Regions from separate parts of the Homo sapiens genome. Here region 1 is linked to region 2. The links are contacts of gene promoters, found by promoter capture Hi-C in blood cells and fetal thymus (Javierre and others, 2016). All regions are on one chromosome and are shown on one strand. Each heading gives the region's core, a stretch centred on a gene start or on the middle of the fragment in contact. The rest is flanking DNA. Distances are from core to core; before and after follow the strand shown. Region 1 holds the start of TOPBP1 (DNA topoisomerase II binding protein 1). Region 2 holds the start of RYK (receptor like tyrosine kinase).

Evidence for each region. Contacts are between HindIII fragments. The CHiCAGO score rates a contact against its expected background, and 5 or more counts as called.
Region 1: a fragment that was not itself captured here is called in contact with the fragment with the promoter of RYK in region 2 in 5 of 17 cell types (activated CD4 T cells, naive CD4 T cells, non-activated CD4 T cells and 2 more); the score reaches 9.2 in activated CD4 T cells.

Annotation. Positions count from the first base shown.
Region 1 is chr3:133,656,533-133,664,375 of GRCh38, reverse strand. It overlaps TOPBP1 (DNA topoisomerase II binding protein 1), which reads left to right and starts at 2,435. Exons shown (of 28, transcript NM_007027.4): 1 at 2,435-2,607; 2 at 3,242-3,332; 3 at 5,226-5,360; 4 at 6,435-6,578; 5 at 7,519-7,700. The coding sequence starts at 3,249. LOC124909487 reads right to left here and starts at 3,150. Exons shown (of 3, transcript XM_047449438.1): 1 at 3,030-3,150; 2 at 2,343-2,863; 3 at 1,038-1,477. The coding sequence starts at 3,150. The coding sequence ends at 1,328. It also overlaps a transcript of TF not described here. RefSeq lists an enhancer at 2,009-2,078 and a silencer at 2,479-2,648. The HindIII fragment of the contact is 1,121 bases long and covers 1,188-2,308 here.
Region 2 is chr3:134,247,434-134,255,115 of GRCh38, reverse strand. RYK (receptor like tyrosine kinase) reads left to right here and starts at 4,257. Exons shown (of 15, transcript NM_002958.4): 1 at 4,257-4,693. The coding sequence starts at 4,462. RefSeq lists a silencer at 4,083-4,902 and an enhancer at 4,238-5,016. The HindIII fragment of the contact is 6,752 bases long and covers 2,766-7,682 here.

The sequences.
Region 1 (7,843 bases), core at 499-2,998, 590 kb after region 2:
CACTCCAACCTGGACAACAGTGAGACTCCGTCTCAAAAAAAAGAAAAAAAAAGTACATGGGAGTATGTGCACAGGTTATATATAAGGTACTTGAGCATCTTCAGATTTTGTTATCTGTAGGGGGCCTTGGAATCAATCCTCCGTGGATACTAACCATTTCACCCTTTCCTGAAGGACTGCTGTTCAAGCAAACTTTAATGTGTACCAAAATCACCTGAAGGGCACAGATTGCTAGCCCTACCCCAAGTGCTCCTGACTTAATAAGTCTGAAGTGGAGCCCAAGAATTTTCATTCCCCCAAAATTCCCAGGAGATGCCGATGCTGCTGGTCCAGACACTACACATCAGAACCACTGCTTTATCCATTTTCCAGGAGTAGATACTAGAGACAGACCCTCTCTGCTTATCTGGAGACACAAGATGGGAGAACTTGCCCCCTAGTGGTGAACTCTTACTCTAAAGACAGGTCACTCCTCTGGTATCAAGTTCCGGCTGGGTAAAAGCTAAAGGGTGCATTTTCTTCATCTTCATTAGCAGCATCTATGAATCTCCTTCTCTTGTGAGGTCTCTACTTGGCCCAGAAATGCCAGGAATGGGCTCCCTCCCCGGTGTGGAACTTCACACAGAGATGGGCAGACAGCACGTGCCCAGGAGCAGTGTGGTGTGTCAGGAAAGGCACGGGCAAGTGACACAGTCCCTGAACTTCACTTTCCCCATCTCCATAACATGAGACAATGATACCCATCTATTATAGGGTTGCTGAAAAGAGTAAACGGGAATAGTGTGAGCAGGAGTCCCATGTTAACTGTAAAGTGCCCTAGAAATATTAATTGTTATTACAGATTCAGGTCAGATTTGCACCTTAACAATTAACTGTGGTTTCTTTTTTTTCCCACCTCTAGTGATTTTTGTTTTTTTGCTTTTAAGGCTTTCTTCACCCTTCCCCCAGCAATAGGCCTTTACCTTTGAGCCCCAGTGTTAATTGATTCTGACTCATTTCTGGTAAAAAAAAAAAAAAAAAAAAATTAATGATATTTATTAAAGCACAGTAAGACAGATTTTATTCCGGACCATCAGGATAGGTATAGCAACCATGGCAATGGGATTCTGAATTAGGAGAGAGAGAGTGGGCTCAACTCTAAATACACCATGGGCAAGTGGGAATTTATAGCCAAGGAACAAAAAGCTTGGGGTCACTGGATAAAAAATTACTAAGAAGGAACTTCAGGAGTAAAGGGGTTTCTTGCTGAAAATAGGTCAAGGTGATCAGACATCACCTTGGATGGTAGAGGATGAGGAACCTGATCAGATATTGAGGGTAGAGGGTTCTAACTGGATTTTCCAAGGAAATGCACAGATAAACCTACGAGAAGGTTGAGGAGTCTGACTAAAGTTTGGCCAAGCAAAGAATCTTTGTCACCTTCCATCGGTGTATTCAAAAACTTAAGACTCAAGCTGCTCATTACTATCTTTAGGCTCTAAAAAGAAAAGAAAAACAAAAACAATCAAGGGACATGGCATTATACTTTTACATTAGTAAATCCAAAGTCATTTTCTCAATCTCAGCAGTGAATAATAAAATGATCCTCATTAGTATAGTGGCTAGATTTTATAAAATAAGAAAAAATTTTTTTAAAAAAGAATAAAATGAAAAGAAGCAACAACGAATCAGTTTTCCGCTGGTTATCACTAAGGTTTGCAGGCCCATCTTATCCCCTCTCCCTTTGCTCTCTGCCATCTGAATCTTAGGTTCAGTCCCAGAATCTCCCCAGTACTGAGGCAGATGCAGAGAAAGAGAACGGCGATGTCCACTGAAGGGGAGGAGGAGGGGAGACCATTGAAGATCTTGACAAAGATCCCTTTGCATTAGCTGTGTAATAAGTCATCCTTTCTTCCCTTGCCATCTTGTGGCTGTGTTAGGCGGTGATTCTATTCCTGCTGTGTTGGAGGGAAACCACCCAGTCCGTAGTCAGAAGACCTGGATGCAGTATTAATTCTACCACCTACTAGCCGTGTGCCCTTGAACCCATCATTTAACTTCCTCCGTTTTTACATCTACAAAATGGAACTACCACTATTTGCCTCACGGAATTGTTTTGGATAATACCTTTTCCCGTGCATGCCTGGTATAAGACAGGTGTAAAATAAATATCTATTGAGGAAATCCTTTCTTTCCCTGGCTTTTTTAACAGTAAAGGAGTATTCCTGGCCTGTGGTCCTACCTCTTGAACCGACGGCGCTGGGCCTACTCGCAGCGGAGACTAGGCCCGCCCAGCAAAGCCCTAAACCCAAAGGGTCCGGCCCAAGCTTTCCCTGAAGCCCCACCGCCCACAGACTGCTCACCTCCACGTTTGACATTTCCGCTCTTCTGCTGCAGCTGCCGATGGCGTCACTTCCACCGGAAAAGGCAAGCGCGGCCGCGCGGTTGGCGCGAAAGTCGGTTCCCGTTCTGGGCAATTTCCGGGTTCTCCAGCGTTTGCTTTGGGGTAGGGGCGGCGCCGAGTCGGGGGAGGGGGCTGTGCGCCGGGCTGGCGCCCGACCCCAGCCACCGCCCTGCGGCCAGCGCGTCCCCCGACTCGCCGCCCGGAGACCCCGAGGCTCCAACGAGGTAAGTGAGGCGCGGAGTGGGGACACAGCTCCTCCCCAGCCCCAACTGGGGTTCGCGATGCCTTCTGTGGCCTTCAGGACCCTCTTTTCCTGTCCTGGTAACTGGCCCTGGAGCCGGCGGGTGGGCCTTTGACGCCGAGAGGACGTGGCTTCCGTGATCCCAGAGCCAGGCCTTTTCCTGGAGATGGGAACCGGAGCATCTAGCCTTATGCAGGGCCAAGACCATGCTAACTGGCTTCCATGTTTATATTTAAAATCTGTTTACTGAGGGATGAACGTACCTCGCAGGCCGTGGGTATCCGCAGGGACAGATACACTCTGTGTATCCTTAAAACAAGTGCAATTGAATGTCCATTGGCCTAAAGGGCTTAGAGCCTTCATAGCAGGGCCTTCCTCAGTGTATTCAATTCGGGTTAATTTTGCTGTCTGATTTGCAAGGATTGGTGTTGTCATCTTTTACCTTGGCTTTGTCCAAGTTCCAGGATTTCTTAGAAATGCCGTTGACGAATTCACGGGCAGAGCCAGAATGTCTGTCTTTAGGCATTCTTGTCTGCACAGAAAAATAGGTAGGTTAAACATGCAACTTTTTATCTAATGTGGTTTTGTTCTTGTTAATGGTTCCTTTATTTTGACAGTTCAGAAATGTCCAGAAATGACAAAGAACCGTTTTTTGTGAAGTTTTTAAAGTCTTCAGACAATTCCAAATGTTTTTTTAAAGCTCTCGAGGTAAGAGTTGAAAACATCTTAATACCGTGAATTCATTTTCTTGTTTTTAAGTGTTTTTGATTTGTTGGGCTTTATGTCTTAGAAGTAGATATTTCACTTTCATAATAATTTTATAGTCTACATTAATACAGATATATCATTATCACATATTTTTGAATTGATCTAAGTACATCATTATGTATTTCGGGGGGCTGGAAGTCTATTATCACATTGCTGTTTAATATGGCTGACCTACAGTTCTTGGAAATTAAGTTGCTTTCATTTGTCTCCTAGCCAGAGTGGTCCTTTGCGTGCTGTAGAAATTTGAGTCAGTTGTGTACTGGTCATACTTGAAAATTTTTTGGTTAATTGTTAAAAATTATGTTTTATTATGTACAGTATAATAATTGGATGATAGTAGGGGTGATGTAGATCCTTGCTTCTCACAGAACCCAGCAGTATCAGCATGGCCTGGAAGTTTCTTCGAAATGCAGAATCTTGGCCTCCAACCCAGACTTAGAATCTGCATTTCTAACAAGATCTTCAGTGTGCATTAAAGTTTGAGAAGCATTTGTAGCAGATTTTTTTAAACTTCATTCATTCAGCAAGTATTTATTGAAGTGTTCATGATTTGATAGGCACTTCTCTAGTACTTGGGATTTATCAGTGATGAGAACAGGCAAAGATTTCTGTTCTTTCAGAGCTTACATTCTAGCAGGAGGACATAGACACTAATCAGACATGATAAATTAGGAAGAGAAAAAAGCAAAACACGTTAAGGGGTTCCAGAGGATGTTTCTTGGGGTGGGAAGAGAAGGGGGTTATAATCTTAAATAGGGTGTGATCAGGGTAGGCTTTATGAAGAAAAAGATATTGAGTAAACGTGAAGGAGGTGAGATAGCCTTGCAGATATCTGGAGAAGAATGTTGCAGGCAGAGAGAGCAACCTTATACAGCCCCTGGGAAAGTGCCTGTAGTCTCTATCCAAGTTTAGTGTACTGTTGTGTAGTGAGTGAGGGATGGGGGAAGAGTACTAAGGAATGCGTTAGAGAATAATGGTAAAGAGGTCATGTAGGGCCTTGTGGGCCATTTTTCTCTCAGTGGAGAGCCATTGGAGGGTTGATAATCAGAAGAGTAAACATGATCTGACTTACAGTTTTAAAGGGATTACTGTATTTAACATAAGGACCTCAAAATTGGTTCAGAACATTTCTGAGTGCTTACTGGGTGTCAGGATATAGTAGCAAACAAGATACATAGAAACTTCCAGGGGAGAGAGACAAAAACTATATATATATATATAAATACGTATTTTTAAATAGAATAGACTAGAAGGGTAGAGGAAGGGTATTTGAGAAAGCCTGATTAGGATGGGCATCTCTGGGGAGGTGACATTTAAGCAGACCTGATTGAAGTGGGGGATTAAGTCAGGTGAAAACCTGGAAAAAAAGTATTCTGTGCTGCAAGATCAAGAGCAGAGCCTCTAAATGAGGTTATGGTTGGCTTGTTCCAGGGTTGGCAAGAAAGCGGGAGTGGCTGGAATAGAATAAGCAAGAGAGATGAGAAGTAGGAGGTAAAGGTGGAAAGATAGGCAGGAAACCAGACTGTGTTGTCTTGAAGGCTGTAGTAAGAAATGTGGATTTTATTCTGGGTGTGGTGTGAAGACATTAGGTTTTGAGCAGATAGTGACATGATCTGACTTGTGTTTTTGAAAAGATTATTAGCTGCTGTGTAGAGAACAGATTTAGGGCAAGGAAGGGAAAAAGAGACCACTTGGGAGCCTTCTGCAGAGGTCTAAGTGAGATGTGATGGTGGCTTTCAATAGGGAAAAGGCTGGATTTGAGATGGAATTTGAATAGGACCTAAATACAGGAGAGTAATTTCAGGTACATTCTTATTTTATTTTTTCTTTCAGTCCATAAAAGAATTCCAATCAGAAGAATATCTTCAGATTATTACAGAAGAAGAGGCATTGAAGATAAAGGAGAATGATAGATCACTTTATATCTGTGACCCTTTTAGTGGCGTTGTCTTTGATCACCTCAAAAAGGTTTGCTGACTTCTAGTGTGTACCTTTGGTAGTCTATTTTTTGGTTTATCTTTGCTTTAATGGACATACATTCTTTGCGGATTATAAAGTACTATGCAACTTATGAGTACATTGGAATTCTTTTGGTTTGGCAAGACCAGGATTGAAAGGCTAATTATGTTACAGTAGGCTTTTTTTGTTTGTTTGTTTGTTTTTGTTTTTGTTTTTTGGAGACAGAGTCTTGTTCTGTTGCCCAGGCTTTAGTGCAGTGGCACAAGCTCAGCCCACTGCAACTTCTGCTTCCTTGGTTCAAGTGATTCTTGTGCCTTAGCCTCCTGAGTAGCTGGGATTACAGATGTATATACACACCCGGCTGATTTTTTTATTTTTAGTAGAGAAAGGGTTTCTCGATGTTGGCCAGGCTGGGCTGGTCTTGAACTCCTGCACTCAAGTGATCCTCCCACCTCAGCCTCCCAAAATATTGGGCTTATAGATGTAAGCAGTAAGGCAGTTTTCAGTGAAAGGGGCTTTTGAAGTTTATTTCTTTTCTTTTCTTTTTTTTTTTCTTTTGTTATAGGGTCTCACTCTGTCGCCCAGGCTGGAGTGCAGTGACGTGATCTCAGCTCACTGCAACCTCCGCCTCCTGGGTTCAAGCAATTCTCTTGCCTCAGCCTCCCTAGAGACTGGGACTGCAGGTGCCCGCCACTGCACCCGACTAATTTTTGTATTTTTAGTAGAGACGGGGTTTCACCATGTTGGCCAGGCTGGTCTCGAACTCCTGACCTCAGGTGATCCACCCCCGCTCGGCCTCCTCTGAAGTGCTGGCATTACAGGCGTGAGCCACTGTGCCTGGCCTGAAGTTTATTTCTTTTGATAGCTTGCATTGTTTGATTTGCTTTTGTGTGTGAGTGTTTAATGTATAGTATCTCTGAGAAATTATATAGTCATCTTTATTTTTTTCTTGTAATGATTTGCTGATTTCTCTACAGTGGTCATCAACTTTGGTAAAGAATTGGTGAATGTTACAAAATGTAATTTTGTAAGACTGGTGGTCTTTTCCTTCTTAACTCATTTAAACTTTTCTCTTTTTTGTAGCTTGGCTGCAGAATTGTTGGTCCTCAAGTAGTCATATTTTGTATGCACCACCAGCGATGTGTCCCAAGAGCCGAACATCCAGTTTATAATATGGTTATGTCTGATGTAACCATATCTTGTACAAGTCTGGAAAAAGAAAAAAGGGTAGATATTGATCTCATGATGATTGATCAATTTATATATCTATCTCTTATTCTTAATTTTTCACTGCATAGAAGATAGCTTAAAAGACTTTCCGCTTATTGTTCGTGACTTTTAACAAAGTTCAGTATACAACCACAGTGTGTATATATGTATACATGTACATTTTTTAAGTAAATTGAATATAGTAGAATTTGTTTTGTTGAAAACTGGCTAATTGAAATTTTTTGTTTTAATTTAAAAGGACACTCATTTTTTAATCACTTACATTTTTCCACTATAGGTGGACAGTCTTTAAAAAAAAGGATTCTAAATCGTTTGAATCAGGGAGGTGGAGGTTGCAGTGAGCCAACATCACGCCACTGCACTGCAGCCTGGGTGACAGAGCAAGATTTCGTTTTGGAAAAAAAAAAAAAAAAGCATTCTAAGAGAGAGCTATAGAAATACATATATATATTTGGGACAGGGTCTTACTGTCACCCACGCTGGAGTGCAGTGGCACAATCACAACTCACTGCAACCTTGATTTCCTGGGCTCAAGTAATCTTCATGCCTCAGCCTCCCGAGTAGCTGGAATTACAGGCATGCACCACCAAGCCTGGCTAAAAATAAATATTTATATATTATATAGATATAATTTATGTTGTTAAAAATACACATGTATATTTATATAGAAGCAAAGATTAAGATTTATACATCCTTTGTATAATAGTTTAATACATTCATGGAGTTGAAAGGGATAAATATAGGAAAATAATATTTTAAAAATATAATTCATACTTATCTCCCAAAAAATAATTTGGTTAATTATTTAACTTTATAATGTTATGTAACACTTATGTATTCAAACTGTCAACAGCAAAATGTATTTATGAGATAGTGTATAAAAGTGGAAGCAATATTGTTTGCTTCAGCATTAATGTGTTCTCTTTTGGGGCTGCAGGAAGAAGTTCATAAATATGTACAAATGATGGGCGGACGAGTATACAGAGACCTTAATGTATCAGTAACTCACCTTATTGCAGGAGAAGTTGGTAGCAAAAAATATTTAGTTGCTGCAAACCTGAAGAAACCTATTTTGCTTCCCTCTTGGATAAAAACACTTTGGGAGAAGTCACAAGAGAAGTAAGAAAGACATTTTTATATTTTCTAGATTTGAAAAAATGATGCATTCAATCATTTTTGGCATGTGATATACTCTTTGGACTTACTATTCAGGGAAAAAAATAGTGTCATTACTCTTTTCTCCAGCGAAAACGGAAGAGCAG
Region 2 (7,682 bases), core at 3,008-5,507:
AATGCAGATTAAACAACAATAAGCTATTTTTCTTTCACTAGACTGTCAACAGCAAAATGAAAAACATTGGCCTATTACCTTGTGTCTCTCATTTATGCCACATTTGGAAATGTATATTTGTAAAATCTTTTGGAAGGCAATTCAGCAGAATCTATCAAAATTAAAACATAACTCCTTTGGACTTGAAGATTCCATTTCAGAGAATCTGTTCTTCTAAATATTTATACATATGCACAAAGATGTATGTGCAAGGATTTGATGTGTATTACCAGAACTGGTAAAATCCATCAGTTCATCCCAACCAAAAGAACACCACAGGGATGCCTCTGTATGCCCTGTCATGAGAACATCCTCGAGATCTCAACTTACTTAGATCAGTCAAAAAAGCAAATCCTGTAGATCACAACTTTTTGTTGTGTTGTCCATTTCTATAAGGCTGAAAAAGAGCACACACATACAATTGTGTGTTTAAACCCATATATGTGTGAGTAACTGCCTAGAGAAAGGGCTCTCAGAACATACATCAAACTGGGCAGTGGGTAAGAGAGACGAGGGTGTGTGTGGAGGGACATATTTATATTTTATTTCACATACTTCTGTGCTGCTTGACTCTTTTACAGTGCAAATGGTTTAATATATTACTTGTGGAAGGAGAAGGTTTATAGAGAGAGCCACATTCCCAACTGCTCCTGGCAAAAGACGAGGCTGATTTCAGGACTTGGAGCCACCCCTTCTCCAACCACCCACCCCCACCCAGCTGAGTGGTTGGGTCAGGTCCATGTTGCTGAGTTGTCTCTGGGTGTCTGTCCTTGCGGGCACCAGGTATTCTCAGCCCACACCAGAGGTCAAACATGGAACACCCATCATCTCTGTGTAGCTTTGACCCCACGCTCCCATCTACCCATCTACCCCATGGCATCTCAAGTCCAAGACTGGCTTTTTAAAGTACAAGTCCTGCTGATGGTATTTCCTGGCCATGCTGAAATATGTCTCCTGGAGGAGGAGAATAAGGTCAACCACTGTGACAAACAAAACCAAGAGTGGAGGGCCAATGTGTGGATTGTGTTGATGACTGTGGCTTTCATTTCCCCAAGGCAAAGAAACCTCAGGAGGCTGTGGTCATGGTTTCTCATTTTCATGCTGAGGCTTTTTGGGAAATTTCAGAAGTTGCCACCCACACCTTGTTAGGGGAGGGAGAGGAAACTTCCTCTTCAGGATGGGCTGGGGATTGTGGGAAGACCTTTGTGTGAGACCAAGTGTCATGCAGAGACAGCAAGAGAGAGACTGGGAATCAATTCCTTCTCCAAGGGTTTAATTAAAGTGTGGGGAAGTTTGCAATCTTATTCAGAAGTTAACATCTGAGCATAGATTTGAAGGAGGTAAGAGATGAAGCCATGTGGGTGTCAGACAGAAGCATTCCAGAGACAGGGAACAGCAGTGCAAAGGCCCTGAGGTAGGATTGTGTCTGGTTTGTTGGAAGAACAGAAAGGAAGCCTTTGTGGTGTGGCAGGAACTAAGGGAGTAGGCGGTGAGCAGAAGATAAGGTCAGAGGGAAGGGAGAAAGGTGGAGAGTGAGAACTACCTTGACATCTTGGAAAGACTTTGCCTTTTATTCTAGGTGAGTTGGGGAACCACTGGTGGTCTGAAAGCCAGAGAGTACATGATCAGGCTGACGTTTAACAGAATGCCTCTGTCTGCTGTGTTGGGAACAGACTGAGCGAGTAAGGGAGAAAGCAGGCAACTGCAGCTGACCAAAAGAGAGACAGGAGAGCTGAGATATTAATGGAGTGACCAGCAGCATCAGAATTACCAGGAGGCTTGGGAAAACAGATTGTTGGGCCCCAGCCCTGGAGCTGCTACCTGTTAGTATGGGCAGTGTCCAAGGAATTTACATTACAAGTTCCCAGGTGATGATACTGCTGGTCTGGGGGCCACACTTTGAGAACTTGTCTTTGTAGAATTTATGAAAACATTTGTTTATCAAAGTTCTCAAGGAAGCACATTGCTCGCTCCTGTGTCCCCAGTGCCTAGCGTGATGCCTGGCACGAGTCTTCATCGAGCTCAGGCTCTGGGCCAGGCTCAGTGCTATTGAATGAGGTTCATGAGGGTCCCAGGTTTGAACTGTTTGGAGGTAACTGGTGATGAAACTTTCACAGGAAGTGGTCATTAAAGGGAAAGGATTCCTTGTAATTACAATAACAACAGGTGTGACACCTACCCAGCGTCTGCCTAGATGTTTTACTTGTATCCCTCTCCAATTAAATCCTGTAAAAGCCCTGGGAGTCGGGCATTATCCCGGGATTTTTATGAATGAGAGAACCAAGGCTTGGAGAGTTTAATTTTCCCAAGACCACAGGATTAACAAGTACCAGAACCCAGCCAGGCCTGAGTGGGAGCTCTCTGCTGTTTACATCATAGGCCGCCTGAAGAAGTCACTGACAAGACCTAGTAATTAAAGAACCTCGAGAAGCTAGGAGTTTCATTCTTTGAGGACTGTGAGCTTTTTTAAAAGTGCAAAGAATATGCCATCCTTTAAAAAAATGCTTCCCATCTGAATTGAGATTCCTGTTCACACAACATGTTTTGAGCCTCCAGCCCTTCCTGGCAGAACCCTGGTAGCAGTGGCTGTCCCAACAGAAGTATTTTTGCTGACTTTTGTGGCTTAAAAGCCTTCTCTGATGGAGCACTTTTCCTCCCCTCTTCCTCTTCTCAGCCTCCTCCGGCAGGATGAAGGGTGTAAGATTTTGTGCTGAGGCGCTGAAGCTTGACAAATTGAGGCCAGCCTATCTCTAAATGGAATCCGTGTATCTTGCTAGGGAGGGAGAAAATCAAGTTCCAGCACTTCCCTCCTTATCAGCCTCTCCTTTTCCCTACCCTTCCCTGAGGATAAAAATAACCGCTTCCCAGGGCCTCACTGCGATGGAGCAACTGTGCCCCGAAGCCAGGCCTAGCTGTCAGAGCAGCTGCTCCCCGAGGCACGGCCCCGCGAGAGCCTTGGGGTCAGGACGGGGGCCTGTCCGCAGGGACGAGGTGTCCCAGGACAGGGCAGGGGCCCTTGGAGCCTCACCAAGAGAGGGGGCACTGGTGCAAGTTTGACCGCGATGGTGGGCGGCTCACAAAAATACATCAGGAGGCCCGGAAGTCCATGCACTGGCTGGCTCCACCGCCTTTAAGTACACGAGGTCTATCTGCAGTTCTTAACCTCTTTGAGGGCACAAGGACTCCCTAGAACAAATGATGACATACCACCTCTCTGTGTGCAATCAAGCATACACACAACACACAGAAACATGGACGTGGACACAAATACGCACGGAGACACATACACTTTTGCACACAGTTTCATATTATTGGAAGGCTGTCGAAGCCTGGTATGGACCACAGATTAACAACCCCAAAGGCAGGTTGATTATAGTGATGCAGAACGATTATAAAAAAAATAACAATTTGGCAGGGCGCGGTGGCTTACACCTGTAATCCCAGCACTTTGGGAGGCCGAGGTCAGTTGATCACGTGAGGTCAGGAGTTCGAGACCAACCCGGCCAACATGGTGAAACCCCGTCTCTACTAAAAATACAAAAAAATTAGTCGGGCATGGTTGCGGGCGCCTGTAATCCCAGCTACTCGGGAGGCTGAGGCAGGAGAATGGCTTGAACCTAGGAGGCAGAGGTTGCAGTGAGCCGAGATCGTGCCAGTGCACTCCAGCTTGGGTGACGGAGCAAGACTTCGTCTCAAAATAAATAAATAAAAATATAAAAATAAATAAAATTTTGTAACGTAAAAATAGGGTTAGTAAAGCGTGCTAAGATCTTTCTGGAAAACAAATATATGTAGTATAAATTCTAATAATAGATACGGAAACGATAAAGTTGATCACCGATGGTAAGATAAAGGATGATTTCTATTTATTTGAGTTTTCCCACTAAACAGGAAAGCATGCTGCTTTTTCGCAACCAGAACGGCCGCATCCAGGCGTTTCCGGGGACCTGGGGCGCCCACTGAGCTGCAGGCGCGGCCGGTGGCTCCAGCCTGGCCCGTCCGTCGGGAAAGGAGGGTTACAGACAATAGACAAGCAAACATTAGACGCAGTGACCGCGTGGGGCGGGGACCGGCTCTTGCGGAGAGGGTGACCCGAGCCCTTCGCCCGCCGAGGCACTTTAAAACCCCAGCGCGTTGCCCAGGCCGGCCCGCCCAGAGCGAAAGGTGCGTGCGCGCTCCCGGGGAGGCGGCGGCGCGCACGGGCGCGTCCCGCGGGCAGCCCCCAACTCCGGACGATGCAGCGAGGAGGCGGCGGCGGCGGCGCGCTCCGGAGGTCTGAAGCCACTGCTGGCTGCCACGGGCCGGCGGTGCGATGAGCTGGGCAGCCGCCCCCGGCTCGGGGCTGTGAGCGGCTCGGGGCCGGGGGTGGGCGGCGGTGCGGCGGGCGGCCGACGCTCCTCTTCGGCGGCGGCGGCGGCGGCCATGCGTGGGGCGGCGCGGCTGGGGCGGCCGGGCCGGAGTTGCCTCCCGGGGGCCCGCGGCCTGAGGGCCCCGCCGCCGCCGCCGCTGCTGCTTCTGCTTGCGCTGTTGCCGCTGCTGCCCGCGCCTGGCGCTGCCGCCGCCCCCGCCCCGCGGCCCCCGGAGCTGCAGTCGGCTTCCGCGGGGCCCAGCGTGAGTCTCTACCTGAGCGAGGACGAGGTGCGCCGGCTGATCGGTGAGTGGGGCCGCCGAGGCCGGGGCGGGCAGGTCGGGCCGGCTGGGGCAGCTTCCGGCCGCCGGCGGATCAGTCTGCGAGCCGTGGACCTCGGGCGAGTACCCTCCCCGCCCCCCGCGCCCGGATTCGCCTCGCGGCCCGGTCTCTGCCTGCCGTGCTGGCTGGGAGGTGTGGTCCCTGCCCGGTCCCCAGCTCTGGGTCAGCCTTCGTGCCGCCCTCGCTGCCCCGCCGCGATAGACCCAGATTCACCCCATCCCATCCTCCTCACTGCCTCCTTAGCCCTTCTCCCTAGAAGAGTCAGTCACCCTTACAACTTTTTTTCCTTGCTGCACGAAGTTTTTTTGACGCTTTCTATGTGTGTCACTCTAGGGCCCTCGATTTTGAATATCTCGAAATTCACGTTTTAGACTGAACTTGCAAACCCTTTGCTGTGGTTTTGATGCTCCAGTAGAGGCCACGCTCTGTGCTTACCCTTTTACAAAAAAAAAAAAAAAAAAAAAAAAAACGAGAGAGAAAGAAGGGGAGGTTATAAGGGCACCAAATGTTCGTGGCAGCCTCCAACTCTTGGGACGTAGATTTGGAGCATATGCTTAGATTCTAAGCATATTTTTAGTGAATGAATCGCCAGGTAGCAGACCTTTTTAGTTTCAATACCTTTTTGGTTTTTGCATTGGGTGTGTTGGGAGTTTGGACTGACTCTGTACTTCTGGGCCACTCTCCTACTTTTGAGTATCTTGAAGGGAAACAAGAACTTAGTCTTGGGTCGGTTTGTGGTTCCATTTACTTGCTTAGCTTTGTTGTTTGGGGAATTAATTTGAAAAATTGCTGGGGTCTTATGTTAGGACTTTGTGGATTCTGGAAATGACCCCTTAGAGGAAGATCTGACAGGAACGACCCCCCAAAAAGGAAGTCCTTGGTACCTAGACGTTTGCATTCTTTTGTTATTATGGCAGTATCTTTATTTCATCTGAAGGTGGTGCTTCTGAGTGTTTGAGGGGAAAAATTATTCTCTATTGCATCCATTATTTGTCAGTATTCTATTTTTTTTTAAGTAATAAGACTTTGTTGAGGTGTGTTGAGATTGACTCAGTGTAGAAATGGAATTACTGAAAGCAGACTCTTTAGACATTACATGTACGGATTTGCAGTTTTTAGCCAAAGAAGAATGCTCTTTTTATGAAGTCGTGCTCATTCTTAATCCTTCTTAGTCTAGCTGAGTTAGCTGAATGTAGTTTAGCTGAATTAAAACTCTACTTGGGGTAGTACTTGGAACACAAGACTAAGATTTAGGAAAAATAATACAAGACGACTCATATCACATTAATTTTAGAAATATTAACGTATTATGCATGGTTTTGTAAAGGCTTTTTGGTTAAAAGCACTTATATAGCTTGTGACTTTGTTTACATGGGTAAACAAAGTCAGAGGTGTAGGTAGGAGACAGAAGACAACCAGGGACTGACATTGAATTCCTGCCATATACCTGCCCCTACATGCTTTATACACATAATTTCTTCTAATTTTCTCGGGGCCCAGTGAGGTAGGTGGCATTATGCCTATTGTAGAGATGAGGAAAGTGGGGTTTTAAAGTAACTTGCTCAAGGTCACACAGTTAATTTTTTTTTAGACGGAGTCTCGCTCTTGTCACCCAGGCTGGAGTGCAGTGGCGTGATCTCGGCTCACTGCAATCTCTGCTTCCTGGGTTCAGGTGATTCACCTGCCTCAGCCTCCCAAGTAGCGACCACTTCTGGCTATTTTTTGTATTTTTAGTAGAGACAGGGTTTCACCATGTTGGTCAGGCTGGTCTTGAACTCCTGAGCTCGTGATCTGCCCGCCTCGGCCTCCCAAAGTGCTGGGATTACAGGTGTGAGCCACCGCACCTGGCCTAGTTCATATTTTTGAAAAAAATGAAACAGTGTTGACATAGGCTGCAAAGTTTTATCGAATGAAATGAAGATTTTGTCTGTAGAAGTTTGATTATGTCATGGTGGAAAATAAATCATTGCTAATTAGCACTTGAGTTATATATTTGTTACCTTATTCAAAGGTTGGCCTGGAACTAATTTTCTTAGCAGTATTTGCAGCAGAGGAAGCTCCTGTTTGATGAGCATCCAATTTATGCCCAGAAATGCTGTTGCTGGGAGGGTAGGAAGCATTGTTTCAATTAACTCCCTTGTCTATCCCCGGGGGCGAGAGAGACTTCTAGTAGTATTTTCTCTAGTGCAAATAGGGTTGACCTGTTACAGAGGATCTCTAGTCACTCCATCCTGCCAGATTCAGGTTCGTTGTTTCCATCCCTTCCCATCTCCCTCATACATTCTACCTTTAAAATAATTCCTTGGCTCCTCCAGGTAGGGAAGAGCCAAGTGGGTAGGACTGAGATGTGTACTGAGATGTGTACAAGGCACTCCGAATTCTCAGAATGCAGTCTCTCACAGAAGCTGTTATGGTACTTAAGGCTTCTTGGAATAGTAGCTTTGCACCGTATTTTAGAATCACTACAGATTTTGTGCCTTCTGAACGCTGGCATAGGAAACGAACCATTATTTTATAATATTTTTAAGACAGTTTAGAGTTCCAAGTAAGAAACTTATAAATGAAGTTGATAGTGACAACTTTATAAATTGAACTAATTACCCTTGATATGAGAATAAATTGTTTTAATCCAGTTAATATATGCATATAGTTTTAAGAGAACCAAAAGGCTTTTTTTTTTTTTTGAGACGGAGTTTCGCTCTTGTTGCCCAGGCTGGAGTCCAATGGTATGATCTTAGCTCACCGCAACCTCTGCCTCCAAGGTTCAAGCGATTCTCCTGCCTCAGCCTCCCCAGTAGTTGGGATTACAGGCACGCATTACCATGCCCAGCTAATTTTGTATTTTTAGTAGAGACGAGGTTTCTCCATGTTGGTCAGGCTGTTCTCAAACCCCCAACCTCAGGTGATCACCCACCTCAGCCTCCCAAAGTGCTGGGATTACAGGTGTGAGCCA